Linked DNA regions of Homo sapiens: regions 1 and 3 are each linked to region 2. Evidence: promoter capture Hi-C in 16 types of primary human blood cells and fetal thymus (Javierre and others, 2016). All regions are on one chromosome and are shown on one strand. The core of a region is centred on a gene start or on the middle of the fragment in contact, and the rest is flanking DNA. Distances in the headings are between cores, read along the strand shown. Region 1 overlaps ZBTB5 (zinc finger and BTB domain containing 5). Region 2 holds the start of PAX5 (paired box 5). Region 3 overlaps ZCCHC7 (zinc finger CCHC-type containing 7).

What was found. Contacts are between HindIII fragments. The CHiCAGO score rates a contact against its expected background, and 5 or more counts as called.
Region 1: a contact is called between a fragment that was not itself captured here and the fragment with the promoter of PAX5 in region 2, in 1 of 17 cell types (total B cells). The highest score is 5.7, in total B cells.
Region 3: a contact is called between a fragment that was not itself captured here and the fragment with the promoter of PAX5 in region 2, in 5 of 17 cell types (total B cells, naive B cells, activated CD4 T cells and 2 more). The highest score is 18.1, in total B cells.

Annotation. Positions count from the first base shown.
Region 1 is chr9:37,444,950-37,448,423 of GRCh38, reverse strand. The region is part of intron 1 of ZBTB5 (zinc finger and BTB domain containing 5); the gene reads left to right. Among named protein-coding and RNA genes, the nearest start is that of ZBTB5, 19 kb to the left of the region's middle. The HindIII fragment of the contact is 315 bases long and covers 1,465-1,779 here.
Region 2 is chr9:37,032,732-37,036,033 of GRCh38, reverse strand. PAX5 (paired box 5) reads left to right here and starts at 1,766. Exons shown (of 10, transcript NM_016734.3): 1 at 1,766-2,048. The coding sequence starts at 2,003. RefSeq lists silencers at 194-353, 1,434-1,613, 1,880-2,000, an enhancer at 1,054-1,103 and a promoter at 1,182-1,620. The HindIII fragment of the contact is 10,408 bases long and covers 1-3,302 here.
Region 3 is chr9:37,344,402-37,347,793 of GRCh38, reverse strand. The region is part of intron 6 of ZCCHC7 (zinc finger CCHC-type containing 7); the gene reads right to left. Among named protein-coding and RNA genes, the nearest start is that of LINC01627, 49 kb to the left of the region's middle. The HindIII fragment of the contact is 8,473 bases long and covers 1-3,392 here.

The DNA.
Region 1 (3,474 bases), core at 373-2,872, 410 kb before region 2:
TGAGCACCCCTTCCCCCCTTCACATTTGGATAGTCTGCAAATTGTGATTCCCACTTTCCCAAGGTGGAATCATAGTTATGATGCAGACATTAGCCTCTGTATTGCCTGAAGATGGTCTGCCAACAAGGTATAACAGGAAGTTCCAAGCATCCCTAAAGTGTTTTGAGAGGAATGTGGAGAACTTGAGTTGGTCTCAAGGCCTGTGATGGGGGATCTAGTGTAGAGCTGAGGATCTCTAGGCTGATGGGAAGTTAAAAGATTGTAGGTACTGTTTGCCTGTCTTCCAGTATTACTTAAACCTTTTATCTTTGTTGGGGTTGTGTTTAGCTACCTCAGTAGCCTCTTTTCAAAGATCCCCTGGCTCTTGGAAAATTTCCTCAAAATGGTGTTTCTGGGACCACAATTTAAAAAAATTGTTTATTTATTTATTTTAGAGATGAGGGCTTGCCATATTGCCTAGGCTGTTCTCCAACTCCTAGGCTCAGGTAATCTTCCCATCTTGGCCTTCCAAAGTACTGGGAATTACAGATATGAGCCACCATGCCCAGCCCCGTAATTTTTAAGTAAGCCATTTTTCTCATATAAGTTCTTTTGCTTATCTAAAAAAAAAAAAAAAGAAGCATTGAGCAGAATATTAGTGCCCTTTTAAATCAGTATGCCTAGTTGAAATACTATTTATTTGTGAAGTCAGTCTTTTATGGCCCCCCTCACCTATTAACTCAGGAAAATAATTCCCACCTGCCACTGTTGTTTTGAAGATTAGAAATAATGTAAATTAAAAGTACTTAGCATAATGACTGTCAGGCTCTCAGTAATTACTGTTATTATACCTGTAATCCCAGGCTGGCAGGAGGATTGCTTGAAGCCAGGAGTTCAAAGCTGCAGTGAGCTATGATCATGCCACTGTACTCTAGCCTGGGCAACAGGGTGAAACCCTGTCTCAAAAAAAAAGCACAGTAAAAAATATATATTTTATTACCACTACCATTACCTCTGTTACTGTCACCAGTGAGACTGTTACTACAATGCTGGGTGATATGGCTTGGCTCTGTCCCAACCCAAATCTCATCTCAAATTGAATCCCCACATGAAGGGAAGGAGGTGATTGGATCCTGGGGGTGGTTTCCCCCATGCTGTTCTCCTGATAGTGAGTTCTCACAACATCTGGTGGTTTTATAAGTGACAGTTTCTCCTTCACACACTCACACTCTTCTGCCACCATGTGAAGAAGGTCCTTGCTTTCCCTTTGCCTTCCACCATGATTGTAAGTTTCCTGAGGCCACCTTAGCCATGCAGAACTGTGAGTCAATTAAACCTCTTTCCTTTATAAATCACCCAGTCTTGGGTATTTCTTTATAGCAGTTGAAAACAGACTAATACACTGGGTCTATTCCCCACTGTAGGAGAGAAAGCAGTAACGCTGAGTGTCTAGTGTTCCTTGTTTTTGCCTGTTGAGCCCAAGCTTCCATGGTCGCTTAGAAGAGCAACTCTGAGTCTTGTACAACTTCCCACCACAATTCCCTGTTTATTTTATTCCTCAAACCAGAATGTTTCTTCCCTGTTACTGCTACAAAATAATTACCCCTCTGGAACTTGGCACTTATTCATATATGAGTGTACTTTCTAAGGCAGGGCTATAGACTTAATGAGCAGTAATTGCATTTTGTTTAATCTCCCCAAAGCCTTAAGCTCTGTGGGCCCTGAGTGAGTCGGGTGGGGACCCGGGATGTGTGTGCTGCTGCCTGCCACTGCTGGCTCTCTGCTTTCTGCCGGAAAGCTTGGTAAAGCAAGAAGGGATGTGGCAGTGGCTGCATCTTTGGAGATCTGATCTCTCATACATGATAGCAAAGAACAGACACCTCAGTGGGAAAGTATGTGTGATCTATTTTGTTGTTGAAAGTTCATCAAAGCTCAACAAACATAGGCAAAACAATATGGCCAACATGTGTCTGCTGCTTTGAGGCATTTGCTTTTCCGATAGTTAACTTTCCAAGTATAGCTGAATAGCATAATAGTCTCAGTCGCCACAGTAGACCCTTGAATTTTGTGGACTTAGTTTGCCATTTCAGTTATTTCCCAGGATCCTGACCAACTTTGGCCTGTAAGGCTGTATGGCTGGGACATCAGAGCAAGTGGTTGGGCCTGGGGAGCCACTTGGCACCCATGCTGCCTTCTTATGAAATGCCATGATGGTATTTGTGAATTTTGGAGATTTGCAAAGATCTCAGGTATATCCCTTTAGAATATCATAGATCTACCTTTTTTAAATTTAATTTTATAAATATATGTGTATACATTTTTATGTATTTATTTATTTGAGACAGAGACTTGCTCTGTCGCCCAGGTTGCAGTGCAGTGCAGCGATCTTTGCTCTCTATAACCTCTGCCCCCTGGGCTGAAGCAGTCTTCCCACCTTAGCCTCCCAAGTACACTGGGACTACATGGCAGGCACTCGCCACCATGGCCGGCTACTTTTTGCATTTTTAGTTGAGATGGGGTTTTGCCATGTTGCCTAAGGTGGTCTCGAACTCCTGAGCTCAAACAATCTGCCCGCCTCAGTCTCCCAAAGGGTTAGGATTACAGCCATGAGCTACCACACCCAGCCTATAGTTCCATAAGGCTTATAGGTAAAAAGAAACAAAAACAACAACAAAACAGCAGTCCCCTGTCCCATCCTTTTCCCCATCAATTACCCACTCCTCAGAGGCAACCACTTTCAATTATTTCAGCTGTTTCTTCCACTATTGACTTCCATATTTCTTTTTTCTTTTTTTTTTTTTGACAGGGTCTCACTCTGTCTCCCAGATTAGAGTGCAGTGACGTGATCTCTGCTCACTGCAAGTTCTGACTCCGGGCTCAAGTGATCCCCCTCAGCCTCCCAAGTAGCTGGGACTGCAGGCACATACCACCATGCCTGGCTAATTGTTTTTGTATTTTTAGTAAGAGATGGGGTTTTGCCCCATGTTGCCCAGGCTGGTCTTGAACTCCTGGGGGCTCAAGGGACCCACCTACCTCGGTCTCCCAAAGCGCTGGGATTACAGGCGTGAACCACCAAGTTGGTTAACTTCTATACTTCTAAATAACATGCCAAATTACTATTTTTTGAGATAACCTATTTCAGACTGTATTTCTAGATTAATAAGGAAAGTGAAGATTTAACTTTATTATACCTCATCTCCTCTACCCTCTTCCCCCATGCAAAGTTGCTTTCTCTCATCCTCCCAATATCTCACATTCGGTTTAGTGTACATATTTTATGACTGTGTAAATATTGTCTACGAATGAACTACATATTGTGTCCTGTGAGTAAACAACCTTTTTTTTTTTTCCTGGAGTTAATCATTGATCCATTTAAAAACTTCTTGTTTTTTTTAATGACCTATCTGCACACTTGGATAGGACTGGTAAATTACAAGCACTCCCAGTCACATCAGGTTATCTATCCATTCCTTTTTTTCCCACCCCCCTTGGAGA
Region 2 (3,302 bases), core at 517-3,016:
AACAACACGCAAAACACCCGAAACAAAAGAATATCCCATGGAAAAATGAAAACTCACAGAAAACAAACAAAAACAAAACAAGCCCTCTAAATGGAAACAACAACAACAACAAAACACCAACACCCCCCGCCCCCAGCCCGGGGTGAAATGTCAATTCCGGGAGGGCTTTTGATCTCCAGGCGCGGACAGGCCGCTCCTCCCAGGCGCTGCCTCCCGGCGCGGGCGAGGCGGGAGGGCGGGAAGCCTGGGCTGGGGCTGGGCTGCGGAGGGAAAGAGTCGAGCACTCGGAGATGGCCAAAAATCAAATCTCGGGGTAGGGACACGGGCCCGCAGGCTGCAGGGAGGAGGCGGCGCTGGGGAACTGCGCAGACCACTTGGTGGGGGGGCCGCCCGGGAATCCACAGCCACATTTCCGATTGTGGCGAAATCTGCTCAGTGGATATGTGATGTCCAGTTGCCGCCGGGGGCCCCCCTTTCCTCGAGCTCTAGGCTCTTCCCCCTAGGTTGCGACCCAGCCTCGTGACCACCCCCTCCAAAAAACAAACAACACTCTTGCTGAGGACGATTCACTCTCCAAAACTGCCATTGTCCGGCGGGCCAGGAGTCCTCCTACGGAGCGCTCCCCCGCCCTGGAGAACCTTTCCCCTGCGACCACCCCGCTGCAGGGCCCCACAGGCTTTCAGTGGCTAGGCCCAGCAGCTGAACTAACTCAAGGCTGGGGAGGGGAACAGGGAGGGGAGGCTTGAGTCTGGCCCGAAGAGAGAGGGCTGGACATGCCACACCTCTGCTCGGTCTCTGTGGATCTGATTTCCTCTCTGGAATCAAGTCCTGGGGCTCTGGGACTCCACAACGTCTCAGGGCTCGAGGGCAATGCGATTCCACTTATGGGCCGGGGTAAGGTGTCTGGAACTCCCGCCAATCTCCAGAAACTACTGAGATGTTCTGCTCTGCCCGGGTGCTCCAAAGCGGAAGCCCGGATTTCATCTCCAGTATTTCACAGCTTAACCTCCATGCTCTGGGCCAGAATGGAACTTGATGTGGGGAGGGGTTCTGGGACTAGAAGACTGGATGGGACCTGGGGGCTTTAGGGATCTGGCGCTGCCCTAGGGTCAGGGGCCCAGCAATAGTCAGGACCCCAACAAATTGGGGTGGGGGTTGGATGGCTGGGAACCCTGGGGTCGGGCGCCGCCCTAGGGGTGAATCGGAGTAAACCGGAACGTCGCCTCGGTGCCTGGCAACACTGCCAGCCTTTGCAACCCCTTTCAAAAGCACCTGCTTGGCCGAGCAGTTAATTTCTTCAAAAACAAAAACCCGGCCTGCGCTCGTCTAAGCAGCGGGGTTTGCACATGGAGATGTCACAGGCCCCGCGCACAGCGCAGAGGGCCGCGACCCCCAAGCGCATGTCTTAATAGAAGGTGCGGCTGGAAGACCCGGGCTCCCGGGCTCCGCTTCGGTCTGCCCCTTCCCGTAGGTGCGCTGGCTAGCGCCCGGCGCAGGCTGAAGCCTTCCTTCCCTCCCCCCAACCCCTATAAAAGTCTGGGGCGGCGCGGCAGCAGCACTGCTGCTCTCCCGGCTTCCCGCTCTACTCCGGCCGGGCCGGGTCCGCCACGTCTGGCGCGCTGAGCAGGCCCGGCCGCGCAGCGCCTACCCTTTCCTCGCTCCGGGCCGGCAGTGTGGGGCGGCGCGCTGGGGGCGCGGCGTGTCTGGGGACATCTTGTGATGTTGGCGAGAACAGGACATGATCTCACATGGCGAGAAGCTCTTTAGTTCCTTAATCATTTCACGGTGCCTTCGGACGCTTTTTTTCCACCTAAAACGTTTAGTTTCAGCTCAGTGATCAGCTACCCCAGCTCGGCGGGGGAGCGGAAGGCTTGAATTATTCCGACCTGTGAGCGGCCCCTGGCACCAAAAAAAAAAAAAAAAAAAAAAAAAAAAGAAAAAAAAAGGCACAAAAAAGTGGAAACTTTTCCCTGTCCATTCCATCAAGTCCTGAAAAATCAAAATGGATTTAGAGAAAAATTATCCGACTCCTCGGACCAGCAGGACAGGTAGGACCGCGATACGGGCTCCAGATGTGCAAACTCCGGGACACGGCCAGGCCTTGGTCCCCACGCAGGGTGACCCTGGAGGAGGAGGGGGCGCGCCGCATTTTCGTAGAGACTGTCTAACTGCGGCGTGTTTGTTATGTTTTTTCACCTATCTGTTCACACACTTCTGCATCAGTCCAAATATCTGTGAGTTTGTCTGTGTTTTTCTCTGTTTCTGAATGTTCACGCTGGCGTCCTTCCGGGGGTCTGCAAGTTAGGGCCTGTGTGTTTATATAAGGGACTCAGTGTGTTCATTACAGTATATGTATTTTTAAAAGATGTAAAAATATATGAGTTTGTGTCCAAAAGTTGTTTGCCTGTGTGTGTGTGTGTGTGTGTGTGTGTGTATCTTTATACTCGTGGGGTATTCGTGTGTGTTTATAAGTTAGTACTTGTGTATATTCTTTTGGGTATCCAAAATGTGTGTCTACTATGAGTGTTATTTATGTAATTCGGAAATATCTGAGTGTACATCCACTATTTAAAGGGTCTGCATTCACCTGTTATATCCCAAGTGATTTTTGGATGTGAGAAAGAAGTGGCTACACTGACCTTTCCATTTTTGGATGTCAACGGCTGTCCGATGCATACACGCCAATGTTCACATTGTGTCTCTAGGCAAACTCCTAGACGTGGGTCTGGGGCCTATGGAGATCCGTGGTGTTTAGCATGTGCATTGTAAGGCCCAGTGTCCATTCTATTGGGAGATAGGACCAGGAATGAAGGTGTGAATTCAGGGCATGCAGCCTCTTGGTGTGCAGTGAGCACTGTTCAGGCTACCATTTGTACAAACAGGTCTCCTGTGGCAGGCACAACCTTGCAGATGACAGCGGACACCTGTAGGGTTAGTTGTGACATTTCTAGGGACCCCCAGCCTACATTCACTTTCACCTAGACAAGCCTCTGACACTGGCGTGTGTATTTGTGTGTACACACAGACACACACACACTGTGTCCTCAGGTTTTATCCTGTGGGTGCCGCACCAGTGGAGGAGAGCACAGTGGGTGGATGCATGTGCATAGTCTGGGCATTCAGCTCTAGGGCCTGTATGCGCACAGGCCTCCCTGGCTTAGGTCCCCATGTGCCTCCCACAGGCCTGAGAAGTAGGTAGCAGGATGTGTTTATGTCTGAGAGGAGATAGCAGGGACAGTAGGCCTCCATCTGCCCTGAGGCATGAATCAGGTATGGGGGGCCTCTTTCACTCACTAGGCCAC
Region 3 (3,392 bases), core at 114-2,613, 310 kb before region 2:
CTTACTGTGAAAATTCTGAGATATTCTAGAAAGAGTACAAGGCAGCAGGATGAACAGTAAAGTAATGCATACAAAGGTGGTAAAACTACAAAAAGAGCAAAGAAATCATTACTCATAAAAGCCAGGATCTGTGAACTTAACCCGGATTTTTTTTTTCTTTAAAGCCAGGTTACTTCCAGTGAGGAGAAACAGCACACAGGATATTGGCATAGCTGAAATTTTCTGTTACTTCAACATGGCGATAGTTAACTTGTGTGTGTATTACATAACTAATTTATTCTTTTGCACATGTATTTTACATACTTTTCAGTATGTATATTAGGTTGGTGCAAAGGTAACTGTAATTGCAGTTTCTGCCATTTAATAGCAAGAACCTCAATTACCTTTGCACTAACCTATTATTTCAGAACAAAAAATGTTTTAAAAAATTGAATGGAAGTTGTAGGAGAGAGAAGTTATATATTGAGAAGCATGAAGCGGCAGAATAAGATGAAGCAGTACCCAGGAAGGGGATTTGGTGGAATCTGTTTATAGAATGGGAAAGACTTGAACATCTGGGAAAGATAATGGAGATGGAGAAGTTGAAACCAGAGGAGGAAAGGAGATGATGGACACAGACCTCTGAGGAGGTGGTGGCTGTAAACAGGGGGAGAAAAACCTAACCCCTGCACACCCCCACGCTTTGTGGAGACTGGAAGAAAAGTTAAGGATCGGCTTAAACGTGGATCACTTTATTTCTTATGTTGTTTATTGAAAGTCTTTAACAAACAGTGCTAGTCTGCCAACTAATTTTTTTTTTGGACAGGGTCTTCCCCTGTTGCCCAAGGTGGAGTACAGAGGCACAATCATGGCTCACTGCAGCCTCGACCTCCCAGGCTCAGGCGATCCTCCCAGTTCAGCCTCCCAGGTAGCTGAGACCACAGGAGTGCACCACTACGCCTGGCTACTTTAATTTTTATATTATTGTTTTTTAAATTTTTGGTAGAGACAGGGACTCACTATGTTGCCCAGACTGGTCTGGAACTCCTGGGGTCAAGTGATCCTTTCACCTTGGCCTCCTAAAGTGCTGAGACTGCAGGCATGAGCCACCATGGCCAGCCCTAATTTTGTTTTTTCTTTGAGACAGCGTCTCGCTTTGTCGCTCAGGCTGGAGTGCAGCAGCACAATCTCAGCTCACCACAACACCACCTCCTGGGCTCAAGCAATCCTTGGGTTTCAGCCTCCTGAGTAGCTGGGACCATAGGTGCTTGCCACCATGCCCAGCTATTTTTTCTATTTTTAGTAGAGATGGGGTTTTGCCATGTTGCCTAGGCTGGTCTCAAACTCCTGGGCTCAGGTGAATTGCTTGCCTTCGCCTCCCAAAGTACTGAGATTACAGCCAACGTGCCCAGGCCCCCTAATTTTGTTTTTAATGTTGCAAACAGGTGTTTTGTAAAGGTCTTATTTCCTTGATATAGGAAAATAATAAATAGGTTATAAAAATCTTCTTCAGGTCAGGCACAGTGGCTCATGCCTATAATCCCTGTACTTTGGGAGGCCAAGGTGGGTGGATCACCTGACGTCAGGAGTTTGAGACCATCCTGACCAACATAGAGAAGCCTCATTTCTACTAAAAATACAAAAATTAGCTAGGCGTGGTGGTGCATGCCTGTAATCCCAGCTACTCAGGAGGCTGAGGCAGGAGAATCACTTGAACCTGGGAGGCGGAGGTTGCAGTGAGCAGAGATCGTGCCATTGCACTCTAGCCTGGGCAACAAGAGCGAAACTCTGTCGCAAAAAACAAAACCCAAACGCAAACCCAAACCAAACCAAACCAAACCAAACCAAAACAAAAAAAACTACTTCAAACAACTTTACTTTCAGCTCTTATTCCCTAAAATGAAAAACTGTAGCAAAACAATAACCTCAATAATCTTTCCTACTGAAAGCTACACAAAATGGAATTTACAACCTCAGGTATTATCAATTGAGATATAATAAAAATAACAACCGTTTTATATTCTGCAATTAAAAATGGGGTTCATAAATTAAGACTAGCTAAAAGTCATTAAACAAGAGTTTTTTTTTTTTTTTTGAGATGGAGTCTTGCTCTGTCACTCAGGCTGCAGCACAGTGGCACGATCTCGGCTCACTGCAACCTCGGCCTCCTGGGTTCAAGTTGTCCTCCTGCCTCAGCCTTCAGAGTAGCTGGGATTACAGGCACATGCCAGCACGCCTGGCTAATTTTTGTATTTTTAGTAGAGATGAGGTTTTGCCATGTTGGTCAGGTTGATCCTGACTTCAAGTGATCCGCCTGCCTCAGCCTCCCCAAATGCTGGGATTACAGGCATGAGCCACCACACCCAGCCTAAACAGAGTTTTAACAGGTACGCATGTAAGCCATGTATCCCTTATTGCAGTGGTTCACAAATTTCTTCAGATAGAACACTGTGAAGACATGAAATTATTAAGCAGAAATGATTTTCCACCCACAAAGACAGCTATATTATTTGACGTGACATCAAATTGCAGCCACAAGCATACATGGCTTAAGAGAAATAAAAACAAAAGAGATGATGTCATAGATATGAAGGCAGAATGGATGTTTCAAGGAAGAAACTGTTAAAAGCTACTGATGGGTTATATAAGATGAAGACTATGAAATCCACTGGACTTAGCAAATAGGAAGTTGTTGGCAAGTGGAGAAACTATTGTGAGTAGTTTCTTTCGAGGGGTAGAGGTACAAGCCAGATTGTAATGGATTTATTATAAGTAGAAAGCTGCTGAAGAACAGAACATAGGTCACTTTTCCTAGAAACTAGGCTGTGTATGCAAGAAGGGAAGGGGACAAGTAGAGCAGAATACAAGTCGAAGGATGCCTCCATCAGGGAGATTTACCAGAGTGCTGGGCCCATGGCATGAGTGTATGCATGCATTCCTTCATTAATTTGTTCAAAAAATAATTATTGAGGGCCTAATACATGCCAGATATTGTTCTAAGATCAGGTAACTGAGAAGTGAGCAAGATAAAAGTCATTGCTCACATCTCCAGTGGTGGAAGATAAATAGAGCCAATAATACACAAACATACAAAATATTAGCGAAAAATAGTATGCAAACAATTAAAATAGTTATATGAATGAGAATCACTAGTGATGACTTAGATTGACTTTTTGGGGGAAGCCTCAACTAGGAAGGTCCTTTCTCATAACAAGAAAAGCCATGTATGTGATGTCTGGGAAACACCACTCTTGGCGTAAGGCATGGGGAACGAGTAGTACCGAGTCCTATGGTAGGAACAAACTTACCAAATTTGAGGATTTGAAAAAAATACCTGTAAATTTGGAAGTGGAGTAGGTGAAGGAAGAGTGAAAGAGGAGGCTCTAGAGGACAGGGAGGGACCAGATCACTTA